6 separate regions of the Homo sapiens genome follow, and regions 1, 2, 3, 5 and 6 are each linked to region 4. Evidence: promoter capture Hi-C in 16 types of primary human blood cells and fetal thymus (Javierre and others, 2016). All regions are on one chromosome and are shown on one strand. The core of a region is centred on a gene start or on the middle of the fragment in contact, and the rest is flanking DNA. Distances in the headings are between cores, read along the strand shown. Region 1 overlaps NPHP3 (nephrocystin 3). Region 2 overlaps NPHP3 (nephrocystin 3). Region 3 overlaps UBA5 (ubiquitin like modifier activating enzyme 5). Region 4 holds the start of TOPBP1 (DNA topoisomerase II binding protein 1). Region 5 overlaps RYK (receptor like tyrosine kinase). Region 6 overlaps RYK (receptor like tyrosine kinase).

Region 1 (3,919 bases), core at 28-2,527, 960 kb after region 4:
GCCTGAGCAACATGGCAAAACCTTGTTTTTACAAAAAATACAAAAGTTTACCAGGCATGGTGGTATGCACCTGTAATCCCAGCTACTTGGGAGGCTGAGGTGGGAGGATCAATTGAGCACAGGAGGTCAGGGCTGCAGTGAGCCATGACCACACCCCTGCCCTCCAGCCTGGGTAACAGAGCAAGACCCTGTCTTTAAAAAAAAAAAAAAAAAGAAAGAAAGAAAGAAAAGAAAAAAAAGAATAGTAAGTCTCTCTGTTCTTCCAATTCTTGAATCAAAATATTACATTCAGAAAACAAAGCATAGTAGTTCATGAAATAGGCAGATAAGTCCTTCTTTATCAGTCTTATCAACATCCTTAAATATCTAAACAAATTATCAGAACTTGAAATATACAATGAAATCTATGTGCAAGTTAAAAAAATATAATAGTTAAAAATTAATGTAAGAACTAATATTTTAAAGAATACTATAGTAGCTAATATTAACAGTTGTATTTTTACAGAACTTTTTGAATTTAGACTGTCCGTTAATGTCCTGGTTCCATCATTTACTAACTAGATTTCTTCAAGTTACTTGGCCACTCTAAACTTTGACTTTCTTGGCTGTAAAATGAGAATAACTAATAGTACCTACCTCATAGGTACTTGTTGCAAGGATTAAATCAGATAATGCACATAAAGTGCTTAGCACAGTACCTGGCCCATGATAAATGTTAGTCGTTATTTTATGAGAAGTATTGCTATTGTTATTTTATAAATAAAGAAACTGAGGTTCAGATTAGGGTTTGCCTAAGAGTACACAGTGAGTAGATTGCAGATCTGGGAGTTGAACCTCGTTCTTTTCTGGCTCCAGATCCTATGGTTTTTCTTTTATAGCCATGGGTCTTAACCTGGGAAGCATGGATCCTATAAATGGGCTTTCTGTGGGACCATGAACTAAGTTGTTAGGACTTATGAGGTAGTAAATCAAGACTTTCTTTTCTCCTTCAGAAGTATCATTTCTATTTGAATTATTTGAGTTCCTGGGGAATATATTCTTTAGAGATATAATTTTTCTGCTTGTTAATTAAATATAACAAGTAGAAAAATTGATTGAAAAACTATACCAAGTAATTCATTATAGTTGCTGGAGAATTGTGTTATTCTAAAGCAAGCCTAAAGCTGGCTGCAAACTACTTACTATACACTTTTTTAAATTCCTCATCAGCTATCATTTAGACCACTGGTACACTGAAGAAAAAGTCAAGTCTCAAGATAATTTTTGAAACTCCTTAATAAGTACTAAGATATTTTGGTTTTTGAGTGTGTCCTTTTTAGCTTTGAACCAGTTTTGAGTTTCTGGGGAAAACTTGGGAAATAGGAATTCTTGGACTTTACACTGAACTCACTTAGTTTCAAAAAGATCTCAGGCAGCCTAGGCTAACCTGATTGTCTTGAGCAGATTGGGAGACTCCAAGTCCCCAGACAAAACCTGCTGTTATTTGGACCTTTTCTCACCCCCAGAAACTGAGGTGATTCCCAGGACAGGTGTTTATTCCTCTGACCAGGAGATCTAGGTGGTCTGCTAGTACCTTCAAGGTCTTCTGCAGTATTTTCTGTGATTTGGGGGCTACAGTGAGCTCCCTGAAACATTCTGCAAACATTTGAGTGTTGCAAAACCCCACAGGGACCTGAAATGTTGTCCTTTACCCATTAATTTACAGCAATACTACATGTAGAAGAAATTGGGGCCCATTTTTTGTTTGTTTGTTTGTTTGTTTGTTTTGAGACGGAGTCTTGCTCTGTCGCCCAGGCTGGAGTGCGGTGGCACTGTCTCGGCTCACTGCAAGCTCCACCTCCCGGGTTCACGCCATTCTCTTGCCTCAGCCTCCTGAGTAGCTGGGACTACAGGCGCCCGCCACCACGCTCGGCTAATTTTGTTTTTGTATTTTTAGTAGAGACAGGATTTCACCGTGTTAGCCAGGATGTTCTCGATCTCCTGACCTCATGATCCACCCGCCTCAGCCTCCCAAAGTGCTGGGATTACAGGCGTGAGCCACCGCGCCCAGCCATTTGAGGCCCATTCTTAGTTTACTAGTTCAGTCATGTTTTTGCCAGCCATAAAAGTAGGCAATTATGAGGGTGCTGTCACTAAAAATAGATTTCATTTTCTCACACAGCTTTTCTCCAGTATTTTCAAAGAATAATCAGAAGTTGACTCTTCAGTAGTCTCAGAGGCATGTGCTTCCTTACAATGTAAATTCATTTTTTTTTCTAGTATTACCAACGCCTTAATGATCTAGTGGCAGCACCAGCCCCGATTCCACCTCTTCTCGTGTCTGGAGGACCAGGTTCTGGGAAGTCTCTTCTTTTATCAAAGTGGTATGATGCAGTGCAATTAAATTATTGTTGTCATTGTTTGAATTACTGAATCTATTCAACAAAATGTATTGCATGCCTGCCTTCCTGCGCGGCCTACACTAAACATTAACAAAGTAAAAAGGAATAAAACAATAGGTTCATGCCCTGAAATGCATAGAATTTGGATGTTAGAGAGAAGACACAGAATGAGAAAGGAATAGGAAGCATGAACATTTATGATTATGTATATAAATCACATAAGTAACAGCTATGGGAGTGCTTTGTAAGGAAGTGATCATATGTGATATGTCATATAACACATGTTATTAAGTGGATTGTAATGTGCCTTTATTTGTAATTATTGCCTTTATTTAAAAGTTTCATTGATACTTTAAATATTTGAAACGACAAAAGCATACTAGTTAGAGTGAAATACATTCTACAGAACATCAAAATTAAGGATAATCTTCACCATGAATGCAATCTAGTTCTTCAAATTATGGACTAAGGTTCATATAAGCTAATAAACTTTATTATTTCATTATGTTATTTAAAAACAAGCAGTAAAAATATTTTCTTTCTTTCATAATTATTTATATTGAAGGGTTAGCATATGTAGTTGTCTCCTTTTTATTACCCTTTTATTTAAAGTTATGTTTGGAAAATAATATTTTTGTATCTAACAAATTTTCCTCTAGTAGGAATTTTTAATTAAAAGTTAATGCTTGTTTTACTAATACCTTACCCTCATATGTAAAGTACTTTGGTTTCTGTTAATTAACATCTATTTGTAATTAAAATGAATCTACAATTTTTTAAAAGATTATTTAGAAGGATCTAAAAGTGGAGTAAAAACAGAAATCTCCATATTTATTTAAAAGTAACTGACCACCTGATTGCTCAGTTAGGCAACATTTGATGTTTACTGCATTGTGAATTCTTTTTTTATTGACAGTCAAGGAACTTTATCGGTTTTATAAAAGTTCTGTCTTTTTCTTTCAGGATTCAATTACAACAGAAGAATTCCCCCAACACACTGATTCTTTCCCATTTTGTGGGAAGGCCCATGTCAACCAGCTCAGAGTCCTCCTTGATTATTAAACGACTAACTCTAAAGGTATAGTATCCCATCTTTTGGAATTACAGAATTTTATTTAGATTCAGAAATTGTTGGGACTAATAAGTACCTACTGGTAAACCAATTTTCAGTATTATCCACCTGTTTTGGTTTTATATAAGGTTAAAAATAATATTCGATACAATCGGGTCCTCTTGGTGACTTGATTTTGGTTTATAAAAAAGTAAGAATAGAAATATTTCCCCCAGCTCTGTAACTACTTCAGTAACTACGTGTAACTACTTCAGTTTGTGTGTGTTCTTATCTTGTAGTTGATGCAGCACTCTTGGTCAGTCTCTGCTCTGACACTGGATCCTGCTAAGCTTCTGGAAGAATTTCCACGTTGGCTGGAAAAACTCTCTGCTCGTCATCAAGGCAGCATCATCATCGTTATTGATTCTATAGATCAAGTTCAGGTACCGTTTTCCATTTGTTACCTATTGATATGCTCAGAAAGAGA
Region 2 (3,296 bases), core at 571-3,070, 980 kb after region 4:
TGCAGAATTTTCCACTTGTGGCATCATGACAGCACTCAAAAAGCTTCTGATTTTGGAGCATTTCAGAATTTGGGTTTTCAGATTAGGGATGTTCAACCTTTATGGGGCCAGCAAACCATTGCCCATAGGCCAAGTCCAGTTGTGTAAATAAGGTTTAAAGGGAACACAGCCAAATTTTTTTCATGTATATATTATCCATGGTTGCTTCTGTGCTTCAGTGGCGGAGTTCCTCACTTGGAACAGAAAGCACACGGCCCACAAAGCCTAAAATATTAACTCTCTAGCCCGTTATAGAAAAAGCCAATCTCTGGTATAATAAAAAGTCTTTCTTATCTATCAGGCACCCAATGAATGGCATCTCTTCCTCTATTAAAAATTATTTCTTTTGCTCTATCATAAGTGATACATAATGGAATTTTTTAACTTATAGAAGTATTGCTTCGTACAAATTTTGTGTGAATTTCACATTTAAACTTGACCAGAAATTAGCCTGTGCAGAAAAAGTTGTTAATTAAAAATTATTAGTGTGCTATAGAAAACTGAAATTTTGACTTTTCATTTAGTTAGGTTGCCCTTCAGAGACTTAGGATGAGTTAAATTAGTTAAAGATGATCAGATGTCAGCTACTTAAAGGACTAGACTTGCTTTGTTTTGTCAAAATTTTTTTAATTGAACAGAACTTTTTATTAGAAAAACATCCATGATAGACTAAGATATCTTAGTGTTTTGTCATATTTTGTTTTATGAAAGGGTTTTTAGAGATTCTTAATGTCATGACTATCATTTCTAGAAAAAATGCTGTATTTAATAGCCCAAAAAGACTTTACACTATGAAAAGAGTGCTTTCATTTCACTGAAGTATACTTTGAATATGTTTCTTTTGTTTGACTTACTGTAATTTTTTTTTAAGATATGAACAAGCTGAACATTTTAGGAAAAAATCCTTTAAAATTCATCAGAAAGCTATAAAGAAAAAAGGCAACTTGGTAAGGAGAGATTTCTTTTGTGTTGTGTTTTGAACGTAAGAGGAAAAGAGCATCATAAATGCATACACCCCACATGTTTAAGAGCTTTAGATTTTAAAATCTTCTAGTTTTTTAGAAGAGAACTACTTAACATTTTCTTATTTATGTGTTAAAATATCATATTACTGAGAAGTACAATTTAGACTTTAAAAAGTGGAACTCTAAATTCATTTGAAGGTTAGATTTTGAAAGACGGAATTTAAAGCTACCTCAGTTCTTTAAAGGGTTGGAAAAAGGAATAAAATAAATTTAGTTAACATTTTGTGTTATGTTCAAATGTGAAGAAAGCCTTCCCCTCAAATACACAATAAAAGTTATTTTAATTTTTTTAAGTTGCTGATAAAATCTAAATGTAGCATATTTCTTTAATTTAAAATGCTGTGTGCATTTTTATGGACCTGATGTTTATGTGTTTACCTATGGGGTTGATAAATATCTGCAAATTAATTATATTCTATTATTTCTTGAAGCACTTTGAGATATAGTTTACTTTCTAAAATATAATCATTTTCATGAAATAGTTTTTAATGAATTTTAGAATGTGTTGCCATGTGGAAATATTTGTATTTGTAATCATCAAGTTAATTTAGTGTGATGCTTAAAATAATAGTTATCTAGATTAAATGGGAAAAAAGGAAGATTTTTTAGGACCCTCATATATTGTTTCAGAATCAAGGATTGCACCTACTTAGTGATTGCTTTTCATTTTTCATGTTTGCTGCAGTACGGATTTGCCCTTTTACGTAGACGGGCTTTACAGTTAGAAGAGCTTACATTAGGTAAGGACACACCTGATAATGCTCGGACCCTCAATGAACTGGGTGTTCTCTACTATCTTCAAAATAACCTGGAGTGAGTACCATGGGGTTAATAATGAAAATAATTAACCATTTTCTCTTTGATGCAATGCTGTTTTACATTTTTGTCAAGTCTAAAGCTAGAAAAAAAATGATAAAAACCACGCAAAATTTCATGTATGATGTTATATAATGAGCATACACATACCTAAAGACCATGGCATTTTCTCTACTGTGTTTCTTTTCACACTCTTTTTTTTTTTTTTGAGACGGAGTCTCGCTCTGTTGCCCAGGCTGGAGTGCAGTGGTGTGATCTCGGCTCACTGCAACCTCCACCTCCCATTCAAGCTATTCTCCTGCCTCAGCCTCCTGAGTAACTGGGACTACAGGCGCATGCCACCACGCCCGACTAATTTTTTGCATTTTTAGTAGAGACAGGGTTTCACTGTGTTAGCCAGGATGGTCTCGATCTCCTGACCTCGTGATCTGCCCGCCTTGGCTTCCCAAAGTGCTAGGATTACAGGCGTGAGCCACCACGCCTGGCCCACATTGTTTCTTAACTGAAAAGTTATTCTGTAGCTTCCCTGGTGTATTTTATATATTTATGAAAAGTGAGTTTGTGTAGATATTGTGCATAAGATCTCACAGAAGCAGCAGCTTGGGACTAATGGTAAATAATGTAGACGGTTTCTAGTTTTGTCAGTTTATTTGGGCAAAAGGATTCAAAATGACATTTATATTTATATGTTATAAAAAGTATTTTTGGACTTCATATATCAGAAAAATATAACAAATTTGAAACTTTGGATGTCAGAAAAGTATAATAAATCTGTAGCCCACTTACAGAAACTTATATAAAAAATAATGATTTATTCTTTTGTTAAAAATTATTTAGTACTGGCTGGGCATGATAGCTCATGCCTGTAATCCCAGAGCTTTAGGAGGCTGAGGCATTAGGATCACTTGAAGCCAGGAATTCAAGACCAGCCTGGGCAACATAGTGAGACCCTGTCTCTACAAAAAAAATTAATAAATTAGCCAGACATGGTGGTACACACCTGTAGACCCAGCTACTTGAGAGGCTAAGGTGGGAGGATCACTTGAGCCTAGGAGTTCAAGGTTACACACACGCACACATACAAAAAAACAAAATAAAGAAATAAAAATTATTTAGTACTAACTCCAAAGGGAGGAAGAGTGAATACAAAAATCTTTTATTGGACCTAGGTCTAATAATTTTTAAAGTATAAAAGTTTGTTTTGGAAAATATCTATCAGTTTTTCTTTCAGAAGTGGAGAATTGAGGCAATCATCCACACATTTTAGGCCCTCAAACTGTCAGGAAAAGGGCAGGAAGAGATAGGGGTGGGGAAGAGGGGGAAAGTAAGATTTTGAGCTGAATCTCTTATTTTAACTAGAATCTAAGAATAAAGATGAGTCAGTTCTCCACTTAATTTAGGGGTCAGGATTCCAAA
Region 3 (4,254 bases), core at 69-2,568, 990 kb after region 4:
AAAATAATTTTTTTTTGAGAAACCAGGTTTTCAGGCAATTTATACATATTTATACATTTATAAAATAACAAAAGCTAAAACTAATGCTGACCAAGATTATAAGATACTAATTTAAGAATTATACATCAGAGGTATTTGCTGTTTTATAGTTTACCAGCAAAAAGAGTAGGATACTGTAACACATGTCACAGCAGCAAGGCTAGACAGTCTAGGTCCCACAGCTATTAGAATAGATTTTAAGAGTAGGCTAAGAGAACATTACAAATAAAACACAGAAAAGGGTTTACATTCAGAACTGTTTTTAGGATGGGGATTATATACTGATAGAATATACAGGAAAACAGATAAATCCATGAATATATCTTGCACAGCAGGAATACTCACTGTATTTATTGTCATTCGAGCTTCAAAATTGTCCACACAGCTAAGAACTAGATCAACAGGTTTTCCTTCTTCTAACCCACCATTACTAGTCAAAGAAAATAAGTTTGAAAAACATCAGGACACAAAATACACTCTAATACATTATACTTACTTGTTCAGTCCAACACTTATTCTTTCATTAAATGTTTGACTATAATTATTACATAATAAATATGTAATATTAAAGATATCATATATATCAAGTATTGAGTAACTTATGAATATAACATCAATGATACTACAGTATCATTGTAGTATTACTTATTTTACAAGAACTACAAGGGTGAAGGAAGTATAAAGTATGTTCACAACAGTTATTTTTTCACTACCAGCTTTCACATTTTTATTCATGCTTCATTACAAATGTAATAAAAGCTAATTGAATGCAACTCATTATTTCAGTGGTGGTCTGACAGTCTCTGAAGAAAACCATTTTCAGACAGAAATATAATCTAGAACACAGAACTTAAAGTTGACATTCTCTTCTTATATTGTAACTTACAGGGGTTTTTTGCTTGTTTGCTTTTTATTTTTAATTGTTTTTGGACAATATATACCTTTAAATGATATTCTAATACATAAAAATTACACAAAAATTGCTGTACTAAAAAAATGGAAAAATATATATCAATCTTCCATTCATTGGATTAATCCATAGATTTTTCTAATAATTTTCTAATACTTGAGCTGGACATTATACAAAATATTCATAAATTAAAATTTTACCTTATTCTATCCATGAAATGTTGAAAGTTTTCCACTGTGGTTATATTATAGTTGTGTACTTCAAAAAGAACATCAGGATTAATGTTCCTAAGAAGGAAAAAGGGAATGATTATAAGCCTGTAATCCTAGCATTTCAAGAGGCTGTGGTGGGAGGATTACTTGAGTCCAGGAGTTCAAGGCTACAGCGAGCTATCATCGCACCCACTGCACCCCAACCTGGGGGACAGAGTGAGACCCTGTCTCTAAAAAAATGTTTTTAAAAAGACTACTACTAGTAGCTGTAGTAAGAAAAAACTGTGAGGAAAAGAGATGAAAGAGCTAAAGGGCATTTAACATACCTTAGAGAAGCGAATTCAAGCTATTCAAAGAAAACCCAAAGTCCTTTTCTGTCTCTTTTATCTCACACTTCAAGGACTAGGTTCATTTTTGTCATAAAGATTACAAAACTGTTCCCACCCCAATCAATCTAAGTGTTGGGAATTAAGACTTAACCATGTCCAGTAACTACCTACAACTCAGCCTCACTTCCTTACTCAGTTAACAAATTTGGGGCCACAAAGGAAATTCCTAAAGCAGGGATTGGTGAACTGTGGCCCATGGGCCAAATCTGGCCCACCACCTGTTTTTGTGCAGCCTTCAGACTAAGAATTTTTTTTCATTTTTAAGTGGTTGGGAAAAGAAATCAAAAGAACATTTATGACTATAAAAATTTTATCAGCCAGGAACAGTGACTCATGCCTGCAATGCTAGCACTTTGGGAGGGCTAGGTGGGCAGATGGCTTGAGTCCCAAGAGTTTGAGACCAGCCTGGGCAATGTGGCAAAACCCCATCTCTGCTAAAAATGCAAAACATTAGCCAGGCATGGTGGCACGTGCCTGTAGTCCTAGCTACTCAGGAGGCTGAGATGCGAAGATAGCTTGAGCCCGGGAGGCGGAGGTGCAGTGAGCCGAGATTGTGTCACTACACTCCAATCTGGGTGACAGAGTGAGACTGTCTCAAAAAAATTTTATTTTTTAATTAAAAAAATTAAAAATTGTATGAAATTCAAATTTCAGAGTCCAAAAATAGAATTTTCTTGGAGCACAGACATGCTCATTCATGTTTGTTTTGCCTACAGCTGCTATCAAACTGCAACTAACAGTTCCAACAGAATATCTGGCCCTCAAAGACTAAAATATTTATTATCTAACCTATACATAAAAAGTTTGCCAACCCATGTCCAACAGGTAAGAGAATTCTTTGTACAAGTGAAAACTGCATTTTATAGAGAAAAATTAAGATTCATTTATATTAACTCATATCAAATACATAAAGTAAGATTTCACTGAATATGGTACTTGATTGCTATTCCATTTACCTCAGAGTATGTTCTGCTGCTTGAACTTTACTTAATCCTGCTTGATGAGGTTGGAAGAAAAGTCTATTCATATTGGCTAGTTCCACCTTGTCATAATCAAAGAGTAGCAACTAAAATGAAAATAGTGGTATTCTGATGAAAAACATACCAAAAAACTAAACATATCAAAAAATAAATTAGAGAGCTTTACATTTAATTAGTTTAGCAGTTTGATAATAATATTAGCTAACTCTACAACACTAGGTGCCATATATTAATTCATTGAATGCTCATGTGAGGCATGTAGGTACTATTATCCTTATTTTTAAAATGAGGCAACTACAACACTTGTCCAAAGGCCACTCATCTAATATGAAGTGAAAATGGGATTCAAATTCAAGCATTCTCAATCCAGCATCTGCACCTCAACCACAATGCTGTGCTGCCTCTCTAAATAATTTACTCAGAAATTAAGATTAATTCCCTTTCATTCCATTTTTTAAATCTGTGGCAAAATCCTACTTCATTTCCATTTTTTTGCTAAAAGCCAGGAATCCATTGGATAAATGAAATCTTTAAATAAGATGAAAACAAGTGCTGTAACTTAAAATATAGTATAACCTGACTCCTTTTGTGTATATGACAAAATATATACCAGTGACATGGCTAAAACATTATTCCAAATAGAATTACAAACCAGTTAATTGTTGTTTCCTGCTATACACTTAAGCCTGTTTCAAAAAGCATTTGTCACACACACACACACACACACACACACACACACACACACTAAAATGGCCATTAGATCACATTTCTTATCAGTAAGAACAGGCTAGAGCCAAGGACTTCCTGTCCCTTCTTCATATGAAATTCTGTGACTCTTTAATACAATTCTCAGCACACTAAACAATAAAAACAAAAATGGGATTTTCTTTTCAATAAAAAACTAAAAAGAAAAAAAATTAACCTAACCCATAACACCTAGATAGCCCTTAATACTAGAAAAGATCTCACACTCTCCAAAATTTTCTAATCCTACGTAAGAGTCTCCAAAACATAGTTTCTTTAAGCTCATCAATATTTATTAGGTCAGGCCAAGTATTAAATGAGTTTCTGCCTCATAGCTTGTTTATACATAAGTTGCGGGAAACATTAAACTTGGGAACAGAAGGTCTGAGCTGTAACTCTGCCACTAATTAGCTCTGATTGTGGGTAAATCACTTTCACTTTTTAGGCCTGTATCTTCATCTCTAAAATAAAGCAGCGAATATAGATCTGGTGATCCAAGGCACCCCAGATACTTTAAAGAGATCCAAAGGCTTTCAGGGATAAGAAATGGACTCTGGGTTTCCTAACATCTTCTACTTTCCTATTTAACCTCATTAATTCACTTCGTATTTATCTGTTTTACAAATTAAAGAAAGACTTCCTGAAACTTACCTGTGTAGATTCTCAGTTTACAAACTTGAGGGCACACTGGAATCACTTGGAGAATTTTTAAAAATACAGATGTTTGTGCCTCATCCCCAGAGACACTTATTATGGGGTGCAGTCTGGACACCAGAATTTTTTAAAACTTCCCAGGTGATTCTAACTACAGCAATATATAACTACTGTTCTACCTCTTTGCTACTCAAAATGGCGTGGTCTAGCTGCATTAGCATCACCTGAAGCTTGTTAGAGATGCAAGAGCACTTCTCCAACTTTAATATGCAAATGAATCATTTGGGGATTGTGTTAAAATACACATTCTGATTCAGTATGTCTGA
Region 4 (4,586 bases), core at 484-2,983:
TTCACTTTCCCCATCTCCATAACATGAGACAATGATACCCATCTATTATAGGGTTGCTGAAAAGAGTAAACGGGAATAGTGTGAGCAGGAGTCCCATGTTAACTGTAAAGTGCCCTAGAAATATTAATTGTTATTACAGATTCAGGTCAGATTTGCACCTTAACAATTAACTGTGGTTTCTTTTTTTTCCCACCTCTAGTGATTTTTGTTTTTTTGCTTTTAAGGCTTTCTTCACCCTTCCCCCAGCAATAGGCCTTTACCTTTGAGCCCCAGTGTTAATTGATTCTGACTCATTTCTGGTAAAAAAAAAAAAAAAAAAAAATTAATGATATTTATTAAAGCACAGTAAGACAGATTTTATTCCGGACCATCAGGATAGGTATAGCAACCATGGCAATGGGATTCTGAATTAGGAGAGAGAGAGTGGGCTCAACTCTAAATACACCATGGGCAAGTGGGAATTTATAGCCAAGGAACAAAAAGCTTGGGGTCACTGGATAAAAAATTACTAAGAAGGAACTTCAGGAGTAAAGGGGTTTCTTGCTGAAAATAGGTCAAGGTGATCAGACATCACCTTGGATGGTAGAGGATGAGGAACCTGATCAGATATTGAGGGTAGAGGGTTCTAACTGGATTTTCCAAGGAAATGCACAGATAAACCTACGAGAAGGTTGAGGAGTCTGACTAAAGTTTGGCCAAGCAAAGAATCTTTGTCACCTTCCATCGGTGTATTCAAAAACTTAAGACTCAAGCTGCTCATTACTATCTTTAGGCTCTAAAAAGAAAAGAAAAACAAAAACAATCAAGGGACATGGCATTATACTTTTACATTAGTAAATCCAAAGTCATTTTCTCAATCTCAGCAGTGAATAATAAAATGATCCTCATTAGTATAGTGGCTAGATTTTATAAAATAAGAAAAAATTTTTTTAAAAAAGAATAAAATGAAAAGAAGCAACAACGAATCAGTTTTCCGCTGGTTATCACTAAGGTTTGCAGGCCCATCTTATCCCCTCTCCCTTTGCTCTCTGCCATCTGAATCTTAGGTTCAGTCCCAGAATCTCCCCAGTACTGAGGCAGATGCAGAGAAAGAGAACGGCGATGTCCACTGAAGGGGAGGAGGAGGGGAGACCATTGAAGATCTTGACAAAGATCCCTTTGCATTAGCTGTGTAATAAGTCATCCTTTCTTCCCTTGCCATCTTGTGGCTGTGTTAGGCGGTGATTCTATTCCTGCTGTGTTGGAGGGAAACCACCCAGTCCGTAGTCAGAAGACCTGGATGCAGTATTAATTCTACCACCTACTAGCCGTGTGCCCTTGAACCCATCATTTAACTTCCTCCGTTTTTACATCTACAAAATGGAACTACCACTATTTGCCTCACGGAATTGTTTTGGATAATACCTTTTCCCGTGCATGCCTGGTATAAGACAGGTGTAAAATAAATATCTATTGAGGAAATCCTTTCTTTCCCTGGCTTTTTTAACAGTAAAGGAGTATTCCTGGCCTGTGGTCCTACCTCTTGAACCGACGGCGCTGGGCCTACTCGCAGCGGAGACTAGGCCCGCCCAGCAAAGCCCTAAACCCAAAGGGTCCGGCCCAAGCTTTCCCTGAAGCCCCACCGCCCACAGACTGCTCACCTCCACGTTTGACATTTCCGCTCTTCTGCTGCAGCTGCCGATGGCGTCACTTCCACCGGAAAAGGCAAGCGCGGCCGCGCGGTTGGCGCGAAAGTCGGTTCCCGTTCTGGGCAATTTCCGGGTTCTCCAGCGTTTGCTTTGGGGTAGGGGCGGCGCCGAGTCGGGGGAGGGGGCTGTGCGCCGGGCTGGCGCCCGACCCCAGCCACCGCCCTGCGGCCAGCGCGTCCCCCGACTCGCCGCCCGGAGACCCCGAGGCTCCAACGAGGTAAGTGAGGCGCGGAGTGGGGACACAGCTCCTCCCCAGCCCCAACTGGGGTTCGCGATGCCTTCTGTGGCCTTCAGGACCCTCTTTTCCTGTCCTGGTAACTGGCCCTGGAGCCGGCGGGTGGGCCTTTGACGCCGAGAGGACGTGGCTTCCGTGATCCCAGAGCCAGGCCTTTTCCTGGAGATGGGAACCGGAGCATCTAGCCTTATGCAGGGCCAAGACCATGCTAACTGGCTTCCATGTTTATATTTAAAATCTGTTTACTGAGGGATGAACGTACCTCGCAGGCCGTGGGTATCCGCAGGGACAGATACACTCTGTGTATCCTTAAAACAAGTGCAATTGAATGTCCATTGGCCTAAAGGGCTTAGAGCCTTCATAGCAGGGCCTTCCTCAGTGTATTCAATTCGGGTTAATTTTGCTGTCTGATTTGCAAGGATTGGTGTTGTCATCTTTTACCTTGGCTTTGTCCAAGTTCCAGGATTTCTTAGAAATGCCGTTGACGAATTCACGGGCAGAGCCAGAATGTCTGTCTTTAGGCATTCTTGTCTGCACAGAAAAATAGGTAGGTTAAACATGCAACTTTTTATCTAATGTGGTTTTGTTCTTGTTAATGGTTCCTTTATTTTGACAGTTCAGAAATGTCCAGAAATGACAAAGAACCGTTTTTTGTGAAGTTTTTAAAGTCTTCAGACAATTCCAAATGTTTTTTTAAAGCTCTCGAGGTAAGAGTTGAAAACATCTTAATACCGTGAATTCATTTTCTTGTTTTTAAGTGTTTTTGATTTGTTGGGCTTTATGTCTTAGAAGTAGATATTTCACTTTCATAATAATTTTATAGTCTACATTAATACAGATATATCATTATCACATATTTTTGAATTGATCTAAGTACATCATTATGTATTTCGGGGGGCTGGAAGTCTATTATCACATTGCTGTTTAATATGGCTGACCTACAGTTCTTGGAAATTAAGTTGCTTTCATTTGTCTCCTAGCCAGAGTGGTCCTTTGCGTGCTGTAGAAATTTGAGTCAGTTGTGTACTGGTCATACTTGAAAATTTTTTGGTTAATTGTTAAAAATTATGTTTTATTATGTACAGTATAATAATTGGATGATAGTAGGGGTGATGTAGATCCTTGCTTCTCACAGAACCCAGCAGTATCAGCATGGCCTGGAAGTTTCTTCGAAATGCAGAATCTTGGCCTCCAACCCAGACTTAGAATCTGCATTTCTAACAAGATCTTCAGTGTGCATTAAAGTTTGAGAAGCATTTGTAGCAGATTTTTTTAAACTTCATTCATTCAGCAAGTATTTATTGAAGTGTTCATGATTTGATAGGCACTTCTCTAGTACTTGGGATTTATCAGTGATGAGAACAGGCAAAGATTTCTGTTCTTTCAGAGCTTACATTCTAGCAGGAGGACATAGACACTAATCAGACATGATAAATTAGGAAGAGAAAAAAGCAAAACACGTTAAGGGGTTCCAGAGGATGTTTCTTGGGGTGGGAAGAGAAGGGGGTTATAATCTTAAATAGGGTGTGATCAGGGTAGGCTTTATGAAGAAAAAGATATTGAGTAAACGTGAAGGAGGTGAGATAGCCTTGCAGATATCTGGAGAAGAATGTTGCAGGCAGAGAGAGCAACCTTATACAGCCCCTGGGAAAGTGCCTGTAGTCTCTATCCAAGTTTAGTGTACTGTTGTGTAGTGAGTGAGGGATGGGGGAAGAGTACTAAGGAATGCGTTAGAGAATAATGGTAAAGAGGTCATGTAGGGCCTTGTGGGCCATTTTTCTCTCAGTGGAGAGCCATTGGAGGGTTGATAATCAGAAGAGTAAACATGATCTGACTTACAGTTTTAAAGGGATTACTGTATTTAACATAAGGACCTCAAAATTGGTTCAGAACATTTCTGAGTGCTTACTGGGTGTCAGGATATAGTAGCAAACAAGATACATAGAAACTTCCAGGGGAGAGAGACAAAAACTATATATATATATATAAATACGTATTTTTAAATAGAATAGACTAGAAGGGTAGAGGAAGGGTATTTGAGAAAGCCTGATTAGGATGGGCATCTCTGGGGAGGTGACATTTAAGCAGACCTGATTGAAGTGGGGGATTAAGTCAGGTGAAAACCTGGAAAAAAAGTATTCTGTGCTGCAAGATCAAGAGCAGAGCCTCTAAATGAGGTTATGGTTGGCTTGTTCCAGGGTTGGCAAGAAAGCGGGAGTGGCTGGAATAGAATAAGCAAGAGAGATGAGAAGTAGGAGGTAAAGGTGGAAAGATAGGCAGGAAACCAGACTGTGTTGTCTTGAAGGCTGTAGTAAGAAATGTGGATTTTATTCTGGGTGTGGTGTGAAGACATTAGGTTTTGAGCAGATAGTGACATGATCTGACTTGTGTTTTTGAAAAGATTATTAGCTGCTGTGTAGAGAACAGATTTAGGGCAAGGAAGGGAAAAAGAGACCACTTGGGAGCCTTCTGCAGAGGTCTAAGTGAGATGTGATGGTGGCTTTCAATAGGGAAAAGGCTGGATTTGAGATGGAATTTGAATAGGACCTAAATACAGGAGAGTAATTTCAGGTACATTCTTATTTTATTTTTTCTTTCAGTCCATAAAAGAATTCCAATCAGAAGAATATCTTCAGATTATTACAGAAGAAGAGGCATTGAAG
Region 5 (4,840 bases), core at 897-3,396, 520 kb before region 4:
ATAATAAACATGAATAAATCTTCCTTCTAGATGCAGTAATAGTTAACATTTTGCCATATTTTCTGTGTTGTGTATGTTTGTGTATTTATCCATCTGTATCTAGAGACATATCTCTAGATACAGGTATCTATATATTTGTGTATATAACTATTTTATAATAAATTAGACATCTCAGTACTTTTAGTGCATGTCCAGCATGTATTTTCAATAAAAAGAAGATAGTTTTCTTTATAATCATAATATCACTGTTGTCTTTGACAAAGTTAACATGCTTCTTAATTTAATGAAACAATGTATCTGACTTTTGATATTGGCAACTGTAAATCCATGTAGCCATTTAAAAAGGCTACATAGTAGTCCACTGAATGGATGTACCACATTTTATTTAACTAATTTCTGGTATACAATCATTATGCCATAGCATGATTTTTAAAAACTACTTATAGTTCTATATGAAGACCTTTTTTTTTTTTTTGGAGACAGAGTCTCGCTCTGTCACCCAGGCTAGAGTGCAGTGGTGTGATCTTGGCTCACTGCAAGCTCTGCCTCCCTGGTTCACGCCATTCTCCTACCTCAGCCTCCTGAGTAGCTGGGACTATAGGCACGCCTGGCTAATTTTTTCTATTTTTAGTAGAGACAGGGTTTCACCGTGTTAGCCACGATGGTCTCGATCTCCTGACCTCATGATCTGCCCACCTCGGCCTCCCAAAGTGCTGGGATTACAGGCATGAGCCACTGTGCCCGGCCATGAAGACCTTTTTTAAAAGCTTGGTATTGGTCCTGTTCACAGAACTGTAACAAAAACTTCTACCTTTTGAGCCAGAAGCAGCTTAAATGTAACATCATAATGTGTGACAGTATCAACATTAGAGCAAATTTTTTTAAAGCACTATATAGAGTCAACATAATTTGTATGTCTACTGAAAATTTGATCACATATGTTTAAAAAAAGAACTGTGGTTATCTCTGTTGGAAGATGTTTATAGGCTTCTGAAAAAATATAGTTTCTGTATACTTTAGACAGTTCCTTGAGTTCTGCTGAAAAATAAGGTGACTACCCAGAGCCTTACTTTTAAATTTAGTTATATTTTGGTTCATATTCAGAAGGATTTGAGGACCTAAAAAGAAGGCAGCCACAGTAAGATAAATAAAATGGTAATGAAAAAGAAACTGAGTTTTTTGGCATTGTGGTGGTAAAAAAGAAAACAAATGAGCCAGCAGTAAGGAGAACAAATATTTTTACTGTGACTGAACATAAAACACCTCCTAGCTTCTCGGCAACCAAGGGTGAAGGAAACACTAAAAGTTGATAATCTCAGTAGCAGAAGGGAAAGAAACAGTTGGAATATTGTCCTTTTTGGCAGTGTTGAAAGTGCTTAATGGTCTATTACACTGACTCTAGGGAGAAGGGCCAAAGGTGTTTAATCCTAGTATATAATGTTAACCTATTACTTAGATACCTAGCCAATGTTCTTACCCCAGTGAAAGGTTTGCATCACTTCAGCACAGAAGTGAGTAGCAGGGATAAATGTAGACAAAGCCAGGATTTTCCCAAGAAACGGTTTTATATTCACTGTAGCCTTAAAGATGTCTTGGCTGAAAAATGCTCAGAGCAAGCATTTGCAGTGTTGTGTCTCATGCAGTTTTAGATTGTAAGGTTTTGCAGCATCCCATCAGGATGAATTAGCAGTCTCAGGAGGTCCTTAGGGAATTGAATGACATTACATACTAAATTGGGGTTATTTGATACTGAGCATTCAGTCCTTGAGGAAAGTCTTGTAAAGGTAGGTTATAGCTTGATTATGCTTAATTGTTCTTCCTTCTATGAGGTGATAGCAGGAGTCCTAGTTACAATGAATAAAACACATTGTCAGCATGTAGAAAGTATATTATTCTTTCCATTCATTGTAGCAGTTCATTTCATTTTTAAGGTGACCAGGGCCTATCACACATTTTGTTTTGATCCTTAATATGTATAGACTGTTCATAGCTATACTTATGTATTTGTTTGTTCATTCTTTTATTCTAATTCATTCAGTACCCATTTTGCACTTGGAACTGTGTTAGGCAGAATGAAAATGAAATGATCTTCAGAGATCGTATTATAGAATTTATCAAGCAACAGAATATAGAATTTATTCAGCAAGAAAAGACACCTGTTTTTAGATTTTACCTTGTGGTATGTAATACAGCATGTTTGCTTCATGTTTTAACATCCATGGTTACGGATTGTACGCGTATTGAAGTGTTTTAAAGCATTTTGAAATCCTTTCTTTTCACACATTTTTCCACTGGAATTTATGAAAATAATTTTATTAAAAGTTAAAATAGCTGTATACATAAAAGATATTAACCTATTTTAATTTCATTAGAAGTGCTTCACATCAAAGTACTCTTGCGCTATTTCTGCTTGTAGTTTGGCCCCTTCATTGGCCCAAAGATGCCTGATGGTGAACACTTCTTATGCCAAATGGCTCACAGCTCTCCCTCTGCAAACGCCCTCAACAAGACTGAGAATTAGAGGCAGTTCTTGTGCCAAGCCCCACAGAACCTACCCTTCCTGTACCTTCTTTCTTCACTATAGCATCTCCTGCTTTCATTCACTCTTCTTAGAGATCCAGACCTTCCCCTTCATCCTCCTTTTCATTACAAGATGGGCAGAATGAAAAACAGCCATTTGTACTTTGAAACATTTTCATGAAGTTTGTTAGCTCTACCAGTGGATTTTTAATCCTGTGGTAGTGGAATAAAAGATTTGACTTCACCCAGCAAACCTAATGGATAAAATGTCTTTAACTCTGCTAAATGAATTTCAGTCACAAAGAAAGAAACAGAAGTAATCTTTGGTGAGTTAAATAGATTGGGCAACAGTGTTTAATGGTATGCCCAAGTTAATCCTTAGTGTAAACCTGTAGTCATTTTAGTATTCATGGGAGTTGGTGGAAAGGAAGCTCTGTAATCTCCCATGTGATCTCCCTTGCTCCTCTGGAGAGAAAGTCTAGTGGTCCAGGGGAATGCAAAGGGTATTGAATCAGATGAAGATCTGATATTTTTCTCCGTGTACTTGCTCTTTGTCCTTGGCAGGTTACCTAAACTTTCTCTCCCAGCGTGGATTTCCTTGCATATAAAGTGGAACTCCTAATCGCTGCCACTTGAGCGGTTATAGAGAGGTTGCCTCTTAGAGGTTTACTGATCTTTAAGTCCTCATTTTCCCACCTCCTCAGGGTCAGTGCTTTCCATGTTAGTAACTCCTGCAAATATGAGGGGAGCGCACAGCTTTGCCACTTGTGCATTGGTGATTGTGCCACGGTTTTATAACTGGGGTTTAAAAAGTGATACATGCTCAATTAAGACAATTTTTAGGAAATACAGAAAACAAAGCTGAAATTATCTATAGTCTTACAACTTAAAGACAACTCTTAACTCTTTGCATATTTCCATGCAGACCTTTATTATTTTTCTCCATTTTTATAATTATCTTGCAAATGGGAATTTTTTATCTTACTTTCTTGTAAGATAAGCTTTTACTTATATTCTCATATTGTGACCAATTGTGACTTATTATCCTGTTATTCTTTCCTTATTAAACATCCTTAGAAGCAGGATTTGCCAAGTTAAGGAGTAGGAATGTTTTAAGGCTATTTGTTACTGTTATTTGTTATTAAATGTTTGTTTTATATAGCATAGATTACGAAGTGTTGGGTATAAAAATTGAGTTTACCTTAGTTTTTGTCTTCTAGCAATTTTTAGCTTAGTGGGGAAGATGATATAATTATGTAAAAAGTTACATAACCTTGGGAAAAATTAGCAGTTATTTCCAGATGTCAGTGGAGGAGGTGTTATTAGACAGTAGGATGAAATGTATGTATGTATGCCATAGAAATTAAAATAGGAACGGGATTGTCCACTACATGCTTGGTTTTATTTTGCACATCACAGCAACCTTTTATGGTTGGTGGGGTCCCTATGTTATAAGAATGGAAACCAAAGCCAAGAGAAGATGGTCACTCTGATAGTAATTGGTAAATCTAGGATTCAAAAATCTGATTCTAAATCCAGTGTGACCAGCTAAGAACTTTTTGGCTTTTGTGGCAGTTTCAGCCTTTTAGAGACCTTTTTTGATGATCATATTCTTGACCACCGTCTGGATTGGGCCTTTTTTTTTTTTCATGTGTGATAATGGAGTAAGTGGGATATTGTTATCATAATACACTCATGGGCAAGTCAGTTTTTAGATGTCTCTGATTAATTGCCCTTTGGAGTAAAGATATAGTGTGGTTAGAGTGTGCCTTCAGAGAATCCAGCCCACAGGAAGCAACTTTGAGTTTATGATTTTTCCCTACCAAGAATGTGCATATATGGGGATATATGCACATATATAGGGGACACTTAAGTCTGGTTTAAAATACAGAACACTTATAATTTTACATTTTTAATGGTAATCATGTTTTTAAGTATTTTGGGGATTTTGTTTTGTTTTAGATTATTTTTATTAGAAGTAAGCCCCTAACATTTTGGATTCCTTTGTCTTTCTCCCAATTTTTTATTATTTTATAGAAATCTTCTTCCTATTACTCATGTGTGTATAGAAGAAGGAGAAAAGCCCATGGTGATATTGCCTTACATGAATTGGGGGAATCTTAAATTGTTTTTACGACAGTGCAAGTTAGTAGAGGCCAATAATCCACAGGTGAGAAAAATTTGCCCAAATACCAATTATTTACCAGTAGTTTCTGATAATGTCTTTGAAAGTAGATATTAACATTCTTAAATATAAACTGTTTAGAGGCCTGCAAAAAAGAACCTCAAAATGAACCACAAGATATTTATAACCTGTTGG
Region 6 (4,564 bases), core at 1,317-3,816, 550 kb before region 4:
CCTGATTATTGTCTTTCCTTTGGAAATAGTTCGTGTGTATATAAGCTTCCATGCATATATGTATATATACATCTTTCAACAGCTAACATACCACCTACTTTTCTGCAGTTTGCAGAGCACTGAACAATATCCTGGTCAAGGATCTCTGTCACTTGATACAGAGTTGTACTTTTTCCCCCTTCAAATGGCTGTATTACTTATTATTATATAGTTGTACTTTGGTTATTGATCAGTTCCTGTGAGGAAATTAAGACCCAGATTTGGAAAGGGATTTGCTTAAGGTAGGAGAAGTAGGGTTAGAGGAAGCAGAAGGTAGAGATGACCTGAAATGGGAAAGTCACACGTGAGGGCAGGGGAGGCTTGATGAAGGGTTTGTCACCTGATCATTTAACCCTGAGGTGTAATCATGAACTTTCAGAAGGAGGGCCGTGGCTCTCAAGCTCTAATACTTTATCAGAAACCCTCGGTTCTTGCTTTTTAAGGTTTGCCAGAAGATGAAATATTTGCTTCCAGAGATCTGCAGGCTCCCTGATATGTGTCGGTTCAACATCGTAGATACTTTAACATTAGTTTCACATATCACAGCTTCTGGTAATACTGTTTCTCAGTGTTTTCGCCATTTTGTCTTGCCACACAGATTGTGGTCTCTTCAGAGGCTTGAAGCTGTCTTACTCTTAGCGCATAGGTCACACATGCCTTAGTGAGTGGTCAGGAAAGACCATTGTGTTAATTGCATTTTGAGTTGGGAGTAGAACTCTGGTATTGCTTCTTTTTCACAAGACCACACACTTAAAAGCAGGCTACTGAGAGGCTTTAACAGATAGTTTCTTCTGTATTCCAGAACATTCCCCAATATCCAGGAGAAACATGTAACTGTGTCTGTTAAGTGTCAGTAGCTTTTTTTTTTTTTTTTTTTTTTTTTTTTTGAGACAGAGTCTCACTCTGTCGCCCAGGCTGGAGTGCAGTGGCGCTTTCTCTGCTCACTGCAACCTCCACCTCCTGGGTTCACACCATTCTCCTGCCTCAGCCTCCTGAATAGCTGGGTCAACAGGCGCCCGCTACCATGCCCAGCTAAGTTTTTTGTATTTTTAGTAGAGACAGGGTTTCACTGTGTTAGCCAGGATGGTCTCAATTTCCTCACATCGTGATCCACCCGCCTCAGCCTCCCAAAGTGCTGGCATTACAGGCATGAGCCACCGCGCCTGGCCGTCAGTAGCTATTTTAGATATCTGAAAAGCGAAAATTTGCCAGAATGTAGCAGAATATTCCCACTACCCACCCTTACCCCATGGCTGTTCTGTGCTTTCAGGAATTCGTCATCATTTTCTAGGAGTTGCAGGGAACTTGTCCAGAGTTCCAGCAGGCACTGCTGGAGGCCAGCAGCTGTGTCCTTTGCAGAGTGAGGTTTCTATGAGAAAGGCATTACTTCTAGTAAGTTCAGAGAAATTAAAAGGCTATTTGGCTGTAGACAAGTGTATTCACTTTAAATCTGTACTCTCTGTGTTCCAGAAGGAAATGGCTTTACTTACCAGCTTCCTATTTGTAATTGCCATTTGTTTCCAAGTAAGGGAACATAAGCAAAAATGTTTATTTTTCAGTTTATTCAAATGTTGATATTTTTGGTAATTTGTTTCTTTTTTTTTCCTTTCCTTTTATTTTCTTTTTCTTTTTCTTTTTTTTTTTGAGACTGAGTCTCACTCTGTCACCCACACTGGCGTGCAGTGGTGCGATCTTGGCTCACTACATCCTCCGCCCCCCAGGTTCAAGTGATTCTCCTGCCTTAGCCTCCGAGTAGCCGAGTAGCATGTGCCCACCACCATGCCCACCTAATTTTTGTATTTTTAGTAGAGACGGGGTTTTACCGTGTTGGCCAGGCTGGTCTTGAACTCCTGGCCTCAAGTGATCCACCTGCATTGACCTCCCAGAATGCTGGGATTACAGGTGTGAGCCACCACGCCTAGCCTGTAGTTTCTTTTCTGAAGTATTTTGGCTCACTCTACATTCTGATAAACAACTGCTGTTCAAATTTCTTTGTCCCAGTAGACTGTACATTTAACTTTTGAGCAGATCTGTTTCTTTAAAGGATGATTGGCAAGTGAGAGTCCTTACAGATCGATACATGCCAAACTAGAGAAAATTGGACTTCAATAATTGGCAATTTCTTCTCTAATCCCAGAAACTGCAGTTTTAAAATTTATATCTTAAAGACTGCAGAGGGAAAAGAGAACTACCTTGTGAATGCCTCCCATTTTTAGACAGTTCCTCAAAAAAGGAGCCAGCAAGGAGGCTTCCACAGTTTCATGCTTCATATTCCTCTAAGCTGCTGATAGGACCAAAGGGGCTGCCTTCTCAAATCTCCTCCTCAGCCCTTTGCACCTCTCCCTGTGCCCTCATTGGCCAGCTACACTCACAGCCTCATTTCCTTCCCTTCTCTCCTCCTTTTCACCTTGCCACACTGAGATGCTCAGGCGCCAGTCTTAGCTGCTTTTTTAACTGCAGTTATGGCCCTGGACCCCTTTGCCAGGCCCTCTCTGCTTACTTTGGGGTTCTGGTCTCTGGTCTGCTCCTTCTCTCCTTGTGATAACTGAGACCTAGAATAAAGGAGACAGCAAGTTTCTGGGGAAATAGTAAGTGTGGCTTTGAATTTGTTAAGTTGGAAGGCTGTAGGATAATTAGATAGAATTGCCTAGTAGGTAATTGGACACTTGAGAGGGATTGAAGGTAAAAGAGAGTGAGAGAAATTGACGATTAAGATATCCCATCAGTGGTGAAATGGGCTAGAACCCTAGTGTACTAGGATTGAAGGATTTACATTTGGAGAGGAAAATGGACCTTTCCTTGGGACTAGAATGAAAAGAATAGATGCTCTAATAGATCTGCCGGGGTGTTGAAAAGAAAGGCAGAAATGGGGTTCCTCTGTACTAGTGGAAAGGGACAAAAACATTGAGTGTGAGGAGGTGGGGAAGGCCTGTAAGGTTGGAATAAGACGAGGGAAAAGAGGGTCAGTGAGGAAGGGATTGCTGAGTAGAACTAAGGGCCTCCCCTGAGACTGGAGGTCATTGTTGTGTAAGAGCTCCTTTTCTGTAGGATGGATTTCCTTCAGCAGTGCTGAGCAGCAGGAGTAGAGTAAGAAGGGGTGGTCAGGATGCTAGAGCTGCCCTTTGAGGGTTTGGAAGGAGTCAACCAGCTGAAGGTGCCAATATGACTGTCAGTAATGTTGCCTTCTTTAGGGCTTGGGCTGTGGAGAACATGAAACTAGGTGTTCACGGCTATACTGGAGAGAAGGGAAGTGGCTTTAACTGGCTGCTGCATCCTGCTATGAACACAGCACCTGGCTCATAAATGTGCCTCATAAATGTTGGCTGACTTGGAGTGATGGAATCAGAGAACTAGTTTTGTAGGAATCAGAGGTGGTGATGGGATCTTTGATAGAATGGCATTTTTGCATTTGTTTTGGTAGTGAAGTAATTCTTTAGCGTGTCAGGATATTGAATACTGAATATTGAAGCCAGGGAGAACATGGCAGGAGACCAAGGCCTCTGCAAGTCCTGTGTGGCTTATTGGTGTTGATGGCATGAGAAGTAGCCATTATGAGTAGAAGCTGTGAGCTTCGGCCGGGCGCGGTGGCTCACACCTGTAATCTCAGCAATGTGGGAGGCCAAGACAGGTGGATCACTTGGGGCCAGGAGTTCGAGACCATCCTGGCCAACATGGTGAAATCTCGTCTCTACTAAAAATACAAAAATTAGCTGGGCATAGTGGCGTGTGCCTGTAGTCCCACCAGCTACTCGGGAGGCTGAGGCAGGAGAATCGCTTGAACCCAGGAGGTGGAGGTTGCAGCGAGCCGATATCACGCCACTGCACTCCAGCCTGGGTGACAGAGTGAGACTCGGTCTCAAAAAAAGAAGTTATAAACTTCAAAGTAGAGGGGATTTGCATGAGGGCATGAGGAAGGGATGTCTGGGAAGGACCTAGTGATCCTAAAGAGTGCCGACCCTACTGTCTAGGCCCTGAGGGTCAGGTGTTGTAGGAACTGAATGATAGGAAGGGGAACAGATGACTTCTGAGGAAAGCCAGGTTGTGGGAGAAGGTGGGAAGACATTTGTGAAGAGGCAGAGAGTGTAGGAGGCTGTTCTGAATAGGGAGGTTCTCAGAATGGGGAAAAAACAGAAGGCCTGCAACAGTGTTCTTGACAGACCCAGGAGGGTTTGTGTCAGAATCCCTGGGGCCAGCAGTGGGCTGATGATTATGGAGAAGTGCAGCATGGCAATAAGGTAGCTGTTCTGGAATGACTGCTGATGCTGCTGATGTCAGAGGAGACTTGTGCCAGGCTAACAGTATGTATTGCATTAATGATCTTATTTGATCCTCATAACATGTATTACCCTTATTTTACAAAATATGGAAACTCAGAGAAGTTACAAATTTACCTAAGAGTCACATGGTCTCATGGTTCCAAACCCAGTTCTTGCTGGCGGTGCTGATTTCTTTTGTGCACCTACCCTTCATGTATGGTCCTGTTCAGAGATAGCATCGGTGTAGGGATGTATAATGCATTCTTTGA

What was found. The method cuts DNA at HindIII sites, captures the fragments that hold promoters and counts their contacts. A CHiCAGO score of 5 or more calls a contact.
Region 1: a fragment that was not itself captured here is called in contact with the fragment with the promoter of TOPBP1 in region 4 in 12 of 17 cell types (neutrophils, monocytes, naive CD8 T cells and 9 more); the score reaches 11.7 in neutrophils.
Region 2: a fragment that was not itself captured here is called in contact with the fragment with the promoter of TOPBP1 in region 4 in 15 of 17 cell types (neutrophils, M2 macrophages, monocytes and 12 more); the score reaches 13.3 in neutrophils.
Region 3: a fragment that was not itself captured here is called in contact with the fragment with the promoter of TOPBP1 in region 4 in 9 of 17 cell types (neutrophils, naive CD8 T cells, naive CD4 T cells and 6 more); the score reaches 7.7 in neutrophils.
Region 5: a fragment that was not itself captured here is called in contact with the fragment with the promoter of TOPBP1 in region 4 in 1 of 17 cell types (M2 macrophages); the score reaches 5.2 in M2 macrophages.
Region 6: a fragment that was not itself captured here is called in contact with the fragment with the promoter of TOPBP1 in region 4 in 1 of 17 cell types (megakaryocytes); the score reaches 5.5 in megakaryocytes.

What each region holds. Positions count from the first base shown.
Region 1 is chr3:132,699,874-132,703,792 of GRCh38, reverse strand. It overlaps NPHP3 (nephrocystin 3), which reads left to right. Exons shown (of 27, transcript NM_153240.5): 10 at 2,260-2,363; 11 at 3,345-3,459; 12 at 3,732-3,875. NPHP3-ACAD11 (NPHP3-ACAD11 readthrough (NMD candidate)) reads left to right here. Exons shown (of 45, transcript NR_037804.1): 10 at 2,260-2,363; 11 at 3,345-3,459; 12 at 3,732-3,875. Among named protein-coding and RNA genes, the nearest start is that of NPHP3-AS1, 20 kb to the left of the region's middle. The HindIII fragment of the contact is 5,015 bases long and covers 1-3,784 here.
Region 2 is chr3:132,684,841-132,688,136 of GRCh38, reverse strand. NPHP3 (nephrocystin 3) reads left to right here. Exons shown (of 27, transcript NM_153240.5): 22 at 911-986; 23 at 1,750-1,877. It overlaps NPHP3-ACAD11 (NPHP3-ACAD11 readthrough (NMD candidate)), which reads left to right. Exons shown (of 45, transcript NR_037804.1): 21 at 911-986; 22 at 1,750-1,877. Among named protein-coding and RNA genes, the nearest start is that of UBA5, 26 kb to the right of the region's middle. The HindIII fragment of the contact is 3,549 bases long and covers 46-3,296 here.
Region 3 is chr3:132,667,180-132,671,433 of GRCh38, reverse strand. It overlaps UBA5 (ubiquitin like modifier activating enzyme 5), which reads right to left. Exons shown (of 12, transcript NM_024818.6): 4 at 2,507-2,616; 5 at 1,150-1,236; 6 at 385-469. All of the region lies in intron 26 of NPHP3-ACAD11 (NPHP3-ACAD11 readthrough (NMD candidate)), which reads left to right. Among named protein-coding and RNA genes, the nearest start is that of UBA5, 9.0 kb to the right of the region's middle. The HindIII fragment of the contact is 5,684 bases long and covers 1-4,160 here.
Region 4 is chr3:133,659,088-133,663,673 of GRCh38, reverse strand. It overlaps TOPBP1 (DNA topoisomerase II binding protein 1), which reads left to right and starts at 1,733. Exons shown (of 28, transcript NM_007027.4): 1 at 1,733-1,905; 2 at 2,540-2,630; 3 at 4,524-4,586. The coding sequence starts at 2,547. It overlaps LOC124909487, which reads right to left and starts at 2,448. Exons shown (of 3, transcript XM_047449438.1): 1 at 2,328-2,448; 2 at 1,641-2,161; 3 at 336-775. The coding sequence starts at 2,448. The coding sequence ends at 626. It also overlaps a transcript of TF not described here. RefSeq lists an enhancer at 1,307-1,376 and a silencer at 1,777-1,946. The HindIII fragment of the contact is 9,162 bases long and covers 1,607-4,586 here.
Region 5 is chr3:134,177,791-134,182,630 of GRCh38, reverse strand. RYK (receptor like tyrosine kinase) reads left to right here. Exons shown (of 15, transcript NM_002958.4): 11 at 4,558-4,690. Among named protein-coding and RNA genes, the nearest start is that of RYK, 71 kb to the left of the region's middle. The HindIII fragment of the contact is 2,754 bases long and covers 770-3,523 here.
Region 6 is chr3:134,213,155-134,217,718 of GRCh38, reverse strand. The region is part of intron 2 of RYK (receptor like tyrosine kinase); the gene reads left to right. Among named protein-coding and RNA genes, the nearest start is that of RYK, 35 kb to the left of the region's middle. The HindIII fragment of the contact is 5,038 bases long and covers 48-4,564 here.